2 separate regions of the Homo sapiens genome follow, and region 2 is linked to region 1. The links are contacts of gene promoters, found by promoter capture Hi-C in human tissues and cell types (Jung and others, 2019). All regions are on one chromosome and are shown on one strand. The core of a region is centred on a gene start or on the middle of the fragment in contact, and the rest is flanking DNA. Distances in the headings are between cores, read along the strand shown. Region 1 holds the start of GPR156 (G protein-coupled receptor 156). Region 2 overlaps GSK3B-DT (GSK3B divergent transcript).

Region 1 (5,780 bases), core at 2,945-5,444:
GGGATTACAGGCGTGAGCCACTGCACCTGGCCCACATTGTGAAATTCTTGTATTGTGTTATTCAGCTCTGTCAGACCAATTAGGTTCTTTTTCATACTGGCTATTTCATCCTTCAGCACCTGTATTACTTTATTGTAATTCTTATTTTCCTTGGATTGGGTTTTGCCATCTTCCTGAATCTTGATGATCTCTTTGTTCCTATCCATATTTTGCATTCTATTTCTGTTATTCCAGCCAGTTCAGCCTGGTTAAGAACTCTTGCTGGAGAACTGGTGTGATCGTTTGGAGGACGTATGATACTCTGGCCATTTGAGTAACCAGAGTTCTTGCATTGGTTCTTTCTCATCTCTGTGTGTGGGTGTTCATTTGACTGCAACGTAGATTGACTACAGTCAACAGACTTCTTTTTTGGATGTTTTCACTGTGCTGAGGCTTTCTATAGGGTCTTTATTTGAAGCTGACTTCTTGTCTCTGGTTTCAGAGGTGTGTATGTTAGTGAAATATTTTTCGTGTTGAAGCTTTGGGGTGTGATCCTGCAGGTGACACTTAGGCTTATTGGTCAATTGGTAGACTCCTGCTCCTGTATGTTTCTTCACAGTTGCAGCTGTGTTCCCTCTCAGTGCTCCGAAAGTGTGGGTTCCTCTCCCCCTTGAGTGCTGGCTGTAGTTCACGACTTAGCACCCCTGGACTGCCCACTGCAGCTCTGGAGTGATCTGTGTTTATGTTCCTTCCCCAGCTTAGAAGTAGCAGAGGCTCATCTTAGTAGGTGCTGTGGCCGAGAGTCATTTGCTTGACTCCTGGGGGCTCTACCCCCAGAAAAATGCAGGTTACCAATTGCTCAGTGCAATCAGCCCAAGAAGGAGGGTTCGTGCTTTGGACCCAAGCCAGGGGTTGCCTGTCCAGTGAGCAGTGTGGAACACATGGGAGATGGACTGGTCTCCTTTCCTTGGGTCTACTGCAGCTTGTTGGTATGGAAAAGGCACTTAGGGTCTTTGCTCCTTCTTTAGTCCAAGGGTGGCAAGGGGAGTTCCACAGCAGAGGCAGTGGCTAAGACCCTTTCAATTGCCCCTGGAGGCACTGTCCTGGAAGTCGCTGAGTTGGTATTGGCTGGATAGCTCTGGTGGGGAGTGGCTGGAGGCCGAGGCCTGGAGGACCTGCCAGTGAGGAGATATGGGAATAGGCACCCATGAAACAGTCTGGCCACTTTTCTACAGGGCTGCTCTGGTATGCTTAGGGCCTGCTCCAGTCCCTAGTCACCTCAGATTTTCCAGAACTTGGAGGTGTCACCAGTGAAGGTTATGATACAGCAAATATGGCAGCCTGTCCCTCCCCCTGGGAGCTTTGTCCCAGGGAGGTATGGACCTGTTGCTGGCCCAAAGGCACCTGTAGGAAGTGGCTGAAGACCCTGGTTGGGAGGTCCCACCTAATGAAGAGGAACAGGATGGGGCACACTTAAAAAAGCAGTCTGGCCACATTTCTGTATAGCAGCTGTGCTGTGCTGGGGGTCCACTTCAGCTCCTGGTCACCTCAGACACTCTACAACCCAAAGGCTGGAAGAGCTAAGTCAGCCAAACAGCAAAGATGGCAGCCCATCCCTCCCTCTAAGAGTGCCATCCCAGGGGGAATTCAGATCTCTGTCACAGCTGAAGAGCTCAGGCAGGGTGGCTGGAGGCCCTGGTTGGGAGGTCACACCCAGTGAGTAGGAATGGGATTGGGCACCCACTTAAAGCAGCAGTCTGGCCACATTTTGGTAGAGCAGCTGTGCTGTGCTGGGGCATCCTTACCGCCCCAGGTCGTCTCAGACTCTCCAAACCCTGAAGGCTGGAACAGCTAAAGCTCCTGAACAGCAAAGATGTTGGCCTACCCCTCCCCTGGGAGCTCCTACTTAGGCAGGTGCTATGTTGCTACTGGTAGCTGGGTGGAATTCCAAGCCAGTGGGTCCTGTCTTGTGTGAGGTGTTGTGGAAGTGGGCCCTGCGGGCTGTTGCTGCTCAGCCCTCTGGATTCAGCCTCTTTCTTAGGGGTATGAATGGGAGTCTAAACTCCCTCTTTGTGGGAGATGCAGCTACTTTTGCCAGAACGCCCAAGTATCTAAGCCTCCAGGGTCTCCACGCATGCCTGAGTGGCTGCTTTGCTGAGACTCCATGTAGCCCTGTCTGCCAGACTGAAGACTGAAGGCCCTGCTGCTAGTGGAGTGGATTCACAAGGAGATCTCCTGACAGGAGGGTTGCAAAGATCTGTGGGAGAAGCATGGTTTCCGGGGTCGCTCATTCACTTACCACTTCCCTGGGCAGGGGAAGATCCCCTGGTTCCCTGTTGCTCCCAGGTGGGCTGTTGTCCTGTCTTGCTTTTCCTTGTTCTCTGTGGGTCAGGTTGTTTCCTTGATTAATCCCAATGCGAGTACCCGGATGTTTCAGTTGAAGGTGTTGTATCTACTCGTCCCTTCTGTTCCTCTCCGTGAGAGCCATGTACATTACCTGCTTCTGGTCAGCCATCTTGGCCACTCCCCATCCTTATGAAAGTTTACACTGTATTACAATTGCACAGGAAAGTTACTGCAGGTTTGGGAGTGGGACAGAGGATAGAGGATGTTGGCTTGTTTTGTCAAGAGAGTGACATTCTTAAGTCTATGTTGGTGGTGGGGACAGATAGGAGGCAAGAAAATCAGTTAGGAAATTATTGAAACAATTCAGCCCCAGATAATCGAAGCTTATCAAGAGCAGCAGTGTGAGAATGCAGAGAAGTGGACAGTTGCCAGAAACATCTCAGAGGTAAACATGGCAGGCCTGGAAGATGAAAACCTTCAGTGCCTGGCAACTGAGGGGTTGGAAATACTCCAATCTCAGAAAAGAGAATACTGGGATTGGAGGTGGGGGCCAAGCTGGGAGAAAGATTTCAATGTCTTGCAGAATATAGAGAGGGGTTGATGAGAATAACAGCCGAAGAGCCCAGGGGAATTCCCAGGTTAAAAAAAAAAAGCCCCACAGAGATCAGAAGGGCAAATCCTCAATCTAGAGCCACAGAAGTGAAGATTTGGCTCTAGACTCTGAAGTCAGCTCTCCTACGGAAAAAAGATGGACCCAGGCCTTTTTAACTCAGGCAGCCCCCATGGAGGAGAGAGATGGTCCTCCTCAGTTTCTGCACGTTCCAAATGAAAGGGTCCTTCTGTGTAGAATGAGAGATCTGGAGAGTCCTGGGTAAAATCTCAGACATAATTCTTTCTTCTGAGAAACCAGCTTTTTGCTTACTGCCTTGAGGAAAACCTTGTCTATCTTTCTTTCTTCCTCTTGTTTTCCCCCTCAGTAGAATCCTGTGAAAAGAAGTCTTTGGGTATCACAATGTGTAAAACAGTTAAGAATGTAGCCACTGTCTTGTCACAGTGGGGTCTGCGGACCTGGCCTCTCTCTTCCCGTCCTCTACAACCAAAGATTTCCTCTGCGCAGTTGTAAAAATGTGGAATGTCCTAATGCACATAAATAGGTCTGAGATTTTAAAATAAATGAAACAAATATAATATGGAAAGTCTAAGTGGATTCCCAAGACCATTTCCAGGTCTCCCCTCTATGTTTCTCCTTGAGGGTGTCTTAAACACAACATCTCACACATATTTTTAAGCGGAAGACAGTGGGCTGGGTGCGAACATCTTGTTTGTGGCCTCCTGTAAGCATTCTTGGAAAAAGAAACGTACTTGTCTTTCTGATTATAAAATAAGCAAAAGCTCAACGTAAAGAATTTGGCAACTCCAGAGAGTATAAAATAAGAAAACTAATTGGTAACTCCGACGCCACTCCAGAAATAAAAATGAGCATTCGCGGAGAATCCTTCCAGTCTCCTTACCGAGGCCGGCTAGGGACCTGAATCTGAAGCTCCTCGCCCCGGGGCCAGCTCCTGCGGCAGCCGCTGGCTCGAGGCCCGGGAAGGGGCGCTGAGGGGAAGGCGCCCCCCAGGGAAGGTCTCTGAGGAGACGGCCGGAGGCGGGGCCGCCCCAGGGGACTCGGCGGCGACGCAAGGAGAAAGATCCGAGGAGCTGGAGGAGCCGTGAGGCGCGTGGAGTCTGCAAGGTCCCGGAGCCCTCCCGGCCCTCGCGGGAGAGCAGGGTCGAGGCGCGCCACGCGGGCGGCGCCAGGGAGGGGCGGGCAGGCGTGGCTCAGCCAGTGCCCCGGCCAGAGGCGCCCGGCGCCCCGCGCACACCTCAGAGGCCTGCGCCGCCGTCCCGCCGCCTCCACGCCAGGCTCCCGGCGCGGCGATGGGCGCGGGCCCCTGTCTCTGCCCCGGCCCGCCCCTTCCCGCCCCTTCCAGCCCCGCGAACGCGCGAGACGCCGGGGGACCGTGGGCGTCCTGCACATAGCAGCGGGCTTGGCGCTTCTCGGCGGTCCGACGCTGATGAGGTGAGCACAGCGACCTTAAGGATCCACAAAACTTCAAACACTTAATTATTAAGTGAAAGTGGAAAGGGGGAGGGGCTTTCTCTCCCTTTCCAGAATCTGGGCAGTTTGTTTGGAACCGGTAAAGAAACTCTCATAGGAACTTGAGGTGAGCAGGGGTCACGCATCAGGGATGCGAGTGGCAATTTCAGTGGAAGAGACGGGAGAGTACTGTAATTTGGTGTGAAGATGGGGCCGTGGGTTTTCTGCTGAATAAGCGACCGGCTGTGCTGAAAATGAGAGATCCCGAAACAGTTTCCCACCGCCTGTAGACTTTCCAGAGTCTCCTCACGCCGAATCTGCTTTGCAGGGCATGTTCACCCCCAGGGTGTAGAGTGGCGGGCACGATGGGCTCCCCCATGGAGATTGCAAAGTCCTGAAAAGGGACAATTGTATTGCACTGCGTCTGTTGAACTGCCTTGCTTCTGGGCATGAGGGAGTCACCTGGAAGCTGCAACATCCTTGTACCCTGGCAAGCAGCCCTTTCCAAGTTAGCTCTGTCAGAAACTAGAGGCCTCTAGGTAGAACTCAAGGTATCCATGTACTCGTGAAGAATACAAACCTTGAGGTTTTTAAAATCGAATTTTGTTAAGATTTCAGGATAGAAATCTGGGAAGAGAAGTCATGGCATGGCATAACTTACCCCTTTGTTAGTTTTCTAGGTACATGCATGCTTGAATTAGAGGTAAATGATGCCCTAGCCTATCATAAAATGTCTTTCCTGGTGTAGTTCTTTAAACCAGAATATGGAGGATAACATTACATTTTTGCATCCTAGATAAAAGGGAAAGATTTTCAGATGGGGCTTACACAGCGGGAGAAATTGTTGATATAGTTGTATTAGGCAGCAAGGCCTGCAAAGAAAAACTTCTTTTTCTCCACCAGTGGCTGAATTCTGCACAGAATGTCTCCTCGCAGTCTGGGTAGCAGCCCGGCTTGCAAAAACAGTGCTTCTTTCATTGCTGCAGGTGGGGCAAATGCGCTTGCGGATAAATGGCTGGGGAAGCGTTTGCTTACAGGTTAAGGCAATTTGAGTCTGGAGAATAAAGTGCTTTAGCAGGCTGTGCTTGAGTTAGGTGTCCCTTGTGAGGAATAGAGGTGGCTTTCTGGTCCCCATTTTGCCAGCCTAATTCCCCTTCAGGGACACTACTGTCTCTGGAATGTTCCCTCTGTTTCCCCTTCTCTTCCACCCCCAGCTTTTAGCTTCTCCCCATTCCCCAGTAAAGTCTAGAATTGAGCCTGGTCAGAGTCAAAGTTCTGATAGCCTAGGGATATAGAACTTCAAGCCTGGTGAAGGCAGAAATGAGACCTAGGAGAGACCCAAGATGGGTGAGATGAAACAACTTTCAGCCTAGAA
Region 2 (5,975 bases), core at 3,353-5,852, 190 kb after region 1:
CAACTCCCTGTTGATGAATTCTTTTTTTCCCACTAGATGGTTTCTCTGGTGCTTAGAAGTACTTCACTTTAACTCCTCTCATGCCAGATTAAAAGCTTAACCTCCATAGGATAGTTTGCTTCCTCAGAGTTCCAGCTGATATGGCTGTGTAAGATATTTGTTTTTAATTCTAAAAGGGTCCAAGAGCCTTTGGCCTTGGAAATATTTTTAAAATGCAGTTGAATAAACCAGTTAGGTTTTAAAGCATATACAGCAGTTTTCTCAATTTGTTGCAAGCAAATGTTTCCCACCATATGTGGCACAGACCTGGGCACACAGTAGACAACAAGCACTTCCTGGTGGAATTAGGATATTCGTGTCTTTTCATGTGTTGTCCAACACAGGCCAGCAAAATTTATGAAATTCTATATAATCATATTTAAAGTCCTTAAGGATAAAAAGTACAATTGGAACACTTTTGATAAGAAGACTAAAAATGAAAACTGTATTCAAATTGTCAAGAAGTGGTTAGAGAAAGTAGAAGTGTACTCAACTGTCTCGGACATGTTGAGTCCTCAAAAAAAAAAAAAAAAAAAAAAAAAAGAAAAAAAACCAGACTGGGTATAGTGGCTCACACCTGTAATCCCAGCACTCTGGGGGCCAAGGTGGGAGGATTGCTTGAGGCCAGGAGTTCAAGACCAGTCTGGACAACGTAGGAAGACCTCTGCCTTTACAAAAATAAAAAAATTAGCTAGGTCAGTTGTGTGCCTGTAAGTCCCAGCTACTTGGGAGGCTAAGGCGGGAGGATTGCTTTATCCCTGGAGGTAGGCTGCAGTGAGCCATGATCACACATCTGCACTCCAGCCTGGGTGACAGAGCAACAAATTATCTAAACAATAACAACAACAATAAAAACAAACAAACAGAAAAGAAAAAACAATCAGAGTTGATATTTTCCTAAGACTCCTAACTGGTCCTAAGAGTAGCAAGATTTAGTTAGGGGAATAATGGTTATTTTTCCTAAATTACTACTTTTATCTTCAAGTACTGAACACTACTAGTGCATACACAATATACATTGTAAAAATAAAGAACAACAGCACCAGCCTGGACAACATGGCAAGACCCTGTCTCTACAAAGTAATTAAAATAGCTGGGTGTGGTGGCATGCACTTGTAGCCCCAGCTACTGCGGGGGAAGGGGGCAGTGGCAGGGCATGGCTGAGGCAGGAGGGTTGACCTGAGCCCAGGAGTTTGAGGTTGCAGTGAGCTATGATCACACCACTGCACTCCAGCCTGGGCAGCAGAGCGAGACCCCATCTCTAAAAATAAAAATAAAAAAATAAGACAGCAGAGATAGTAAAACATCTTAAAACTGAGCTATAAACTCTCATAAGGATCCTTTCTGGTTTCATATCTGGCACTTCATACTACTGTCTGATCTAGATGTTACAGAGAAACACATTCCTTGAGGCTTTGTACATTCCTTCCCATTTTCTTTCAAGATTCCATCCTACAGGGCACAGGAATGAAGCATCCTGATACAATTCAAATAAAGTTTTGGCCTGATTAAGGGAGACCAGTCCTCTCTGCATTCTGAAATTCCTTTTTGGATGATCCATAGGAGGTCTTACTTTTTTTTCACTTCCCTGCACCCCTGGCCAAGGATATTCAATATCCAAGAAACCAAATACCAATTTTCTTGTAGCTTTCACATTTCCCATCAACATGACATAGATTAAAGACCAAAAGACTTCTGTTCCATTCTGAGAGATGTGAGTCCCATTTCCATGTGAAGGAAATCTGACCGTTCCCGATTTACAGCTACTGAGGGCCTAAAATATTTGTTCTGAGAATTTCTCAGGCCTATATTTATTACATTTTAATGCACATAAAACAAAGCTGAATTCCTAGAATTTGCTGTAAAGAAGTATACTTCAAGTATTCAATCAACACATACTGTTTTCAATTCATTTATTCAATGTGAAAATATTTACACTCTTGTATAAAAAAGCTCTTTTCAAAAAATGTGAATGGAAATGAGGTAAAATAAATAAAATTGAAGTAGTTCAAAATAATCTAATCGGTAATAATATAGTAAACCACATGATTATACCCTTAGAAGTAAACATGTGACAAGCATGAAAAACTAAAAGGATTTGTTAGAGGCATGTGAACCAGAGCAACTCCATCTTAAACAGGAGCCGGGCAAAATGAGGGTGAAATCTATTGGGCTGCATTCCCAGATGGTCAGTTAAGGCATTCTAAGTCACAGGATGAGATAGGAGGTCAGCACAAAATACAGGTCTTAAAGACCTTGCTGATAAAACAGGTTGCAGTAAAGGAGCTGGCCAAAACCCACCAAAACCAAAATGGCGACGAGAGTGACCTCTGGTCGTCCTCACTGCTACACTCCCACCAGTGCCATGACAGTTTACAAATGTGCCATGACAGTTTAGACCCTATGTGGTCCAAAAAGGGGAGGCATGATTAATCCACTCCTTGGTTAGCATATCATCAAGAAACGACCATAAAGAATGGGCAACCAGGCCAGGTGCGGTGGCTTATGCCTGTAATCCCAGTACTTTGGGAGGCCAAGGCGGGCAGATCAACTGAGGTCGGAAGTTCAAGACCAACCTGACCAACATGGAGAAACCCTCACTCTACTAAAAACACAAAATTAGCCGGGCGTGGTGGCGCATGCCTGTAATCTCAGCTACTCGGGAGGCTGAGGCAGAATTGCTTGAACCTGGGAGGTGGAGGTTGTGGTGAGCCGAGATCACGCCATTGCACTCCAGCCTGGGCAACAAGAACGAAAACTCCATCTCAAAGGAAAAAAAAAAAAGGGCAACCAGCAGCCCTCAGGGCTGCTCTATGTAGTAGCCATTCTGTTATTCCTTCATTTTCTTAATACTTGCTTTGACTTTTGCACTGTGGGGTCACCCTGAATTCTTTCTTGTGTGAGATCCAAGAACCCTCTCCTGGGGTCTGGATCATGACCCGTTTCCTGTAACAGATTCAAGTGTTTTTCTTTTATTTTCTATAGTATACTCCTTTAAGATGTCAAAATCAGAGTATTTATATAATTTGCCAAAGGCTTGATATGCAACTTTTCATACAACCAGTCTATTTCACAGTGACAGTGTTTCAAACACTCTCCCTCTTCTTTTTGGGTAGTCATTCATTAATTTCCCATTTGGGCACACCTCACTGGTTATAAGACACATAACCAACTATGCCACATCTTGTTACTCTGGGCATATTTTCAGCAACAGGAAAAACCACAGTGTATGTTACTTCAGAGGCTTTCCTATAATGGTAATGTCTTACATCTGCTAAAGTACCTCTCCACTGTCTACAGGACAAAGCCCAGTTTTTTTTTTTTTTTTTTCCTGTAACAAAGCTCCCTCAAACCTACCTTTTCAACCTTATCTTCCATTAGTCTTCTCTATCAGCTTTTTGTTCCAGCCAAACTGGTTTTCCCAAAGTCAGAAGAACAGAGTCACACTGTCCTTAATTGCTGTTACAGCTCCACCCACATGCAGGTTTACTAAAGAGAGGTTTTATCTGATGGGTTGAAATTGAAGTGATGGAAAGTAATTTACCTCCCCTCTTCTTTCTTCATCTTCAAATCCTACTACTCCTCCTTTAAGATCACTTTAGATTGAAGTGTCCTCCACTCACCTATTATAAATAGGAATGCATGGGCAATTTATTTTAAACTTTGTAGTAACAACCATATTAACAAATTATAGGCCAGGCATGGTGACTCACGCCAGTAATCCTAGCGTTTTGAGAAGCCATGGCACGCAGATTTTGAGCCCAGGAGTTTGAGACCAGTCTGGGCAACATGGCGAAACCCCATTTATACAAAAAATACAAAAATTAGCTGGGTGTGGTGGTGCACCCTTGTAGTCCTAGCTACTTGGGGGGCTGAGGCAGCAGGATCCCTTGAACCTGGGAGGTTGAGGCCGCAGCACTCCAGCCTGGAGGACAAAGTGAGACCCTGTCTCAAAAAAATAAATAAAAACCAAATTATGTTCTGTCTCATAACTTTTATCAATTCAAAATGTGATTTTTATAATTTATTTAACTTTTCATGTAGTTGCTTCCCTAGAGGGTAAACTCCCAAAGGACACTGATCCTCTCATCCACCTTATATCAGATGCCTAGCAGGTGTCTCAAATATAATACTTACTCACTATTGTCTAGTTTTACTATTTTAACTTATATGACAAAGGATTATCATAAAAATTTTCGTTGGAAAGCTTTGCTGAGAAATGTGAATTTTTTTTAAGAATTCCATTGTAATTAGAGGCTTCTGAGGGACATGTGAATCATAGTGAAGAAATAATATAAATGTTATTTTTTGGGCCAATTCCCCTTAAAATCAAACACAGAGGTGGGGTACAGTGGCTTACACCTGTAATCCCAGCTACTTAGGAGGCTGAGGTGGGAGGACTGCTTGAGCCCAGAAGTTCAAGGCCATAGTGAGCTATGACTGTGCTACTGCACTCCATCCTGGATAACAGTGAGATTAAAAGATAAATAAAAGTAAAAAAATAGAAATTTATTATAAAAATACTAAGCAAAGACATTTAAATATTTTCATTTATATTTAAATATGTTATTGACGAGTTATTCTAATTTGTCTTCCTTTCCAATCTTGATCCAAATGTACTTATATTTTACAGATTGGAAATATGGTAGATATACAACCTGAAGTTCTATATTTTTCAATTAGTATTGTTTCCTAAACATATTTCTGAGTTACTTTTGGTGGTTGTATTTATTTTTACTGGCTGCCTAATATGGAGTTAATACAGCATAGTTTACTTTACTCCTCTATTATCCTGTGATATTTTCCTTTATTTTCTCTTGGCCCACATCTTAGACATTACATAATTTCAAACTATCTCAAGGTCTCCAAATACCTTGTTAAACATTTCAGCCATTGCATAACCTTTTCTCTTTGCCTGGAATGTTCTTTCCTTCCTTATCCATCTGTACAACTGTACAACTATTCTTTGTCTAAACTAGTGGTTCATAAACTTTTTTTTTTTTTTTTTTTTTGAGACGGAGTTTTGCTCTTGTTGCCTTGGCTGGAGTGCAATGGTGCGATCTCAGCTCACTGCAACCTCCACCTCCTGGGTTCAAGCAATTATCCTGCCTCAGCCTCCCAAGTAACTGGTATTATAGACGCCCGCCACCACGCCCAGCTAAGTTTTAAAGTTTTAGTAGAGACGGGGTTTCACCATGATGACCAGGCTAGTCTTGAACTCCTAACCTCAGGCGATCCACCTGCCTCGGCCTCCCAAATTGCTGGGATTACAGTCATAAGCCACCACTCCTGGCTTGTCCATAAACTCTTGATCTTGAGCTAACATGATATGCACATTATAAGATACACACAGAAATAAAAAAAGGATTAAAGGTGCACTATTTTAAAGATAAATTTCAACCGGCCCGGTGTGGTGGCTTACGCCTGTAATCCTGACACTCTGTGAGGCTGAGGCAGGCAGATCACCTGAGGTCGGGAGTTCGAGACCAGCCTGACCAACATGAAGAAACCCCGTCTCTACTAAAAATACAAAAGTAGCTGGCATGGTGGCACATGCCTGTGATCCCAACTACTTGGGAGGCTGAGGCAGGAGAATCACTTGAATCGGGGAGGCGGAGGTTGCGGTGAGCCGAGATCGCGCCACTGCACTCCAGCCTGGGCAACAAGAGTGAAACTCCGTCTCAAAAATAAATAAATAAATAAAGATACATTTCAATTATTTAAGGTCCCAAACCATTTTGTTTTCACCCTCCTACTGCTATCGGGCCCCTAACAATTATTAACACTTTTTCCAATGCCTCATTGGCCAAGGGATGTTTTTAGGTTGGCCTGCAGGGTTTGAAAATTTGGTTACCAACATTTAAAAATGCAGAGATTTCACACAAAAATCCAATTTTGGGGTTTCTTTTGGGAGGAAAAAAATTGAACATCTGAGA

What was found. Contacts are between HindIII fragments. The study calls those that stand out against the background at their distance.
Region 2: a contact is called between a fragment that was not itself captured here and the fragment with the promoter of GPR156 in region 1, in 1 of the 25 tissues and cell types used here (aorta).

The regions. Positions count from the first base shown.
Region 1 is chr3:120,283,636-120,289,415 of GRCh38, reverse strand. GPR156 (G protein-coupled receptor 156) reads left to right here and starts at 4,194. Exons shown (of 10, transcript NM_153002.3): 1 at 4,194-4,387. It overlaps LOC124909418 (a long non-coding RNA gene), which reads right to left and starts at 4,260. Exons shown (of 2, transcript XR_007096029.1): 1 at 2,279-4,260; 2 at 1-1,154. The HindIII fragment of the contact is 13,353 bases long and covers 1,614-5,780 here.
Region 2 is chr3:120,096,401-120,102,375 of GRCh38, reverse strand. All of the region lies in intron 1 of GSK3B-DT (GSK3B divergent transcript), which reads right to left. Among named protein-coding and RNA genes, the nearest start is that of GSK3B-DT, 4.3 kb to the right of the region's middle. The HindIII fragment of the contact is 4,861 bases long and covers 2,172-5,975 here.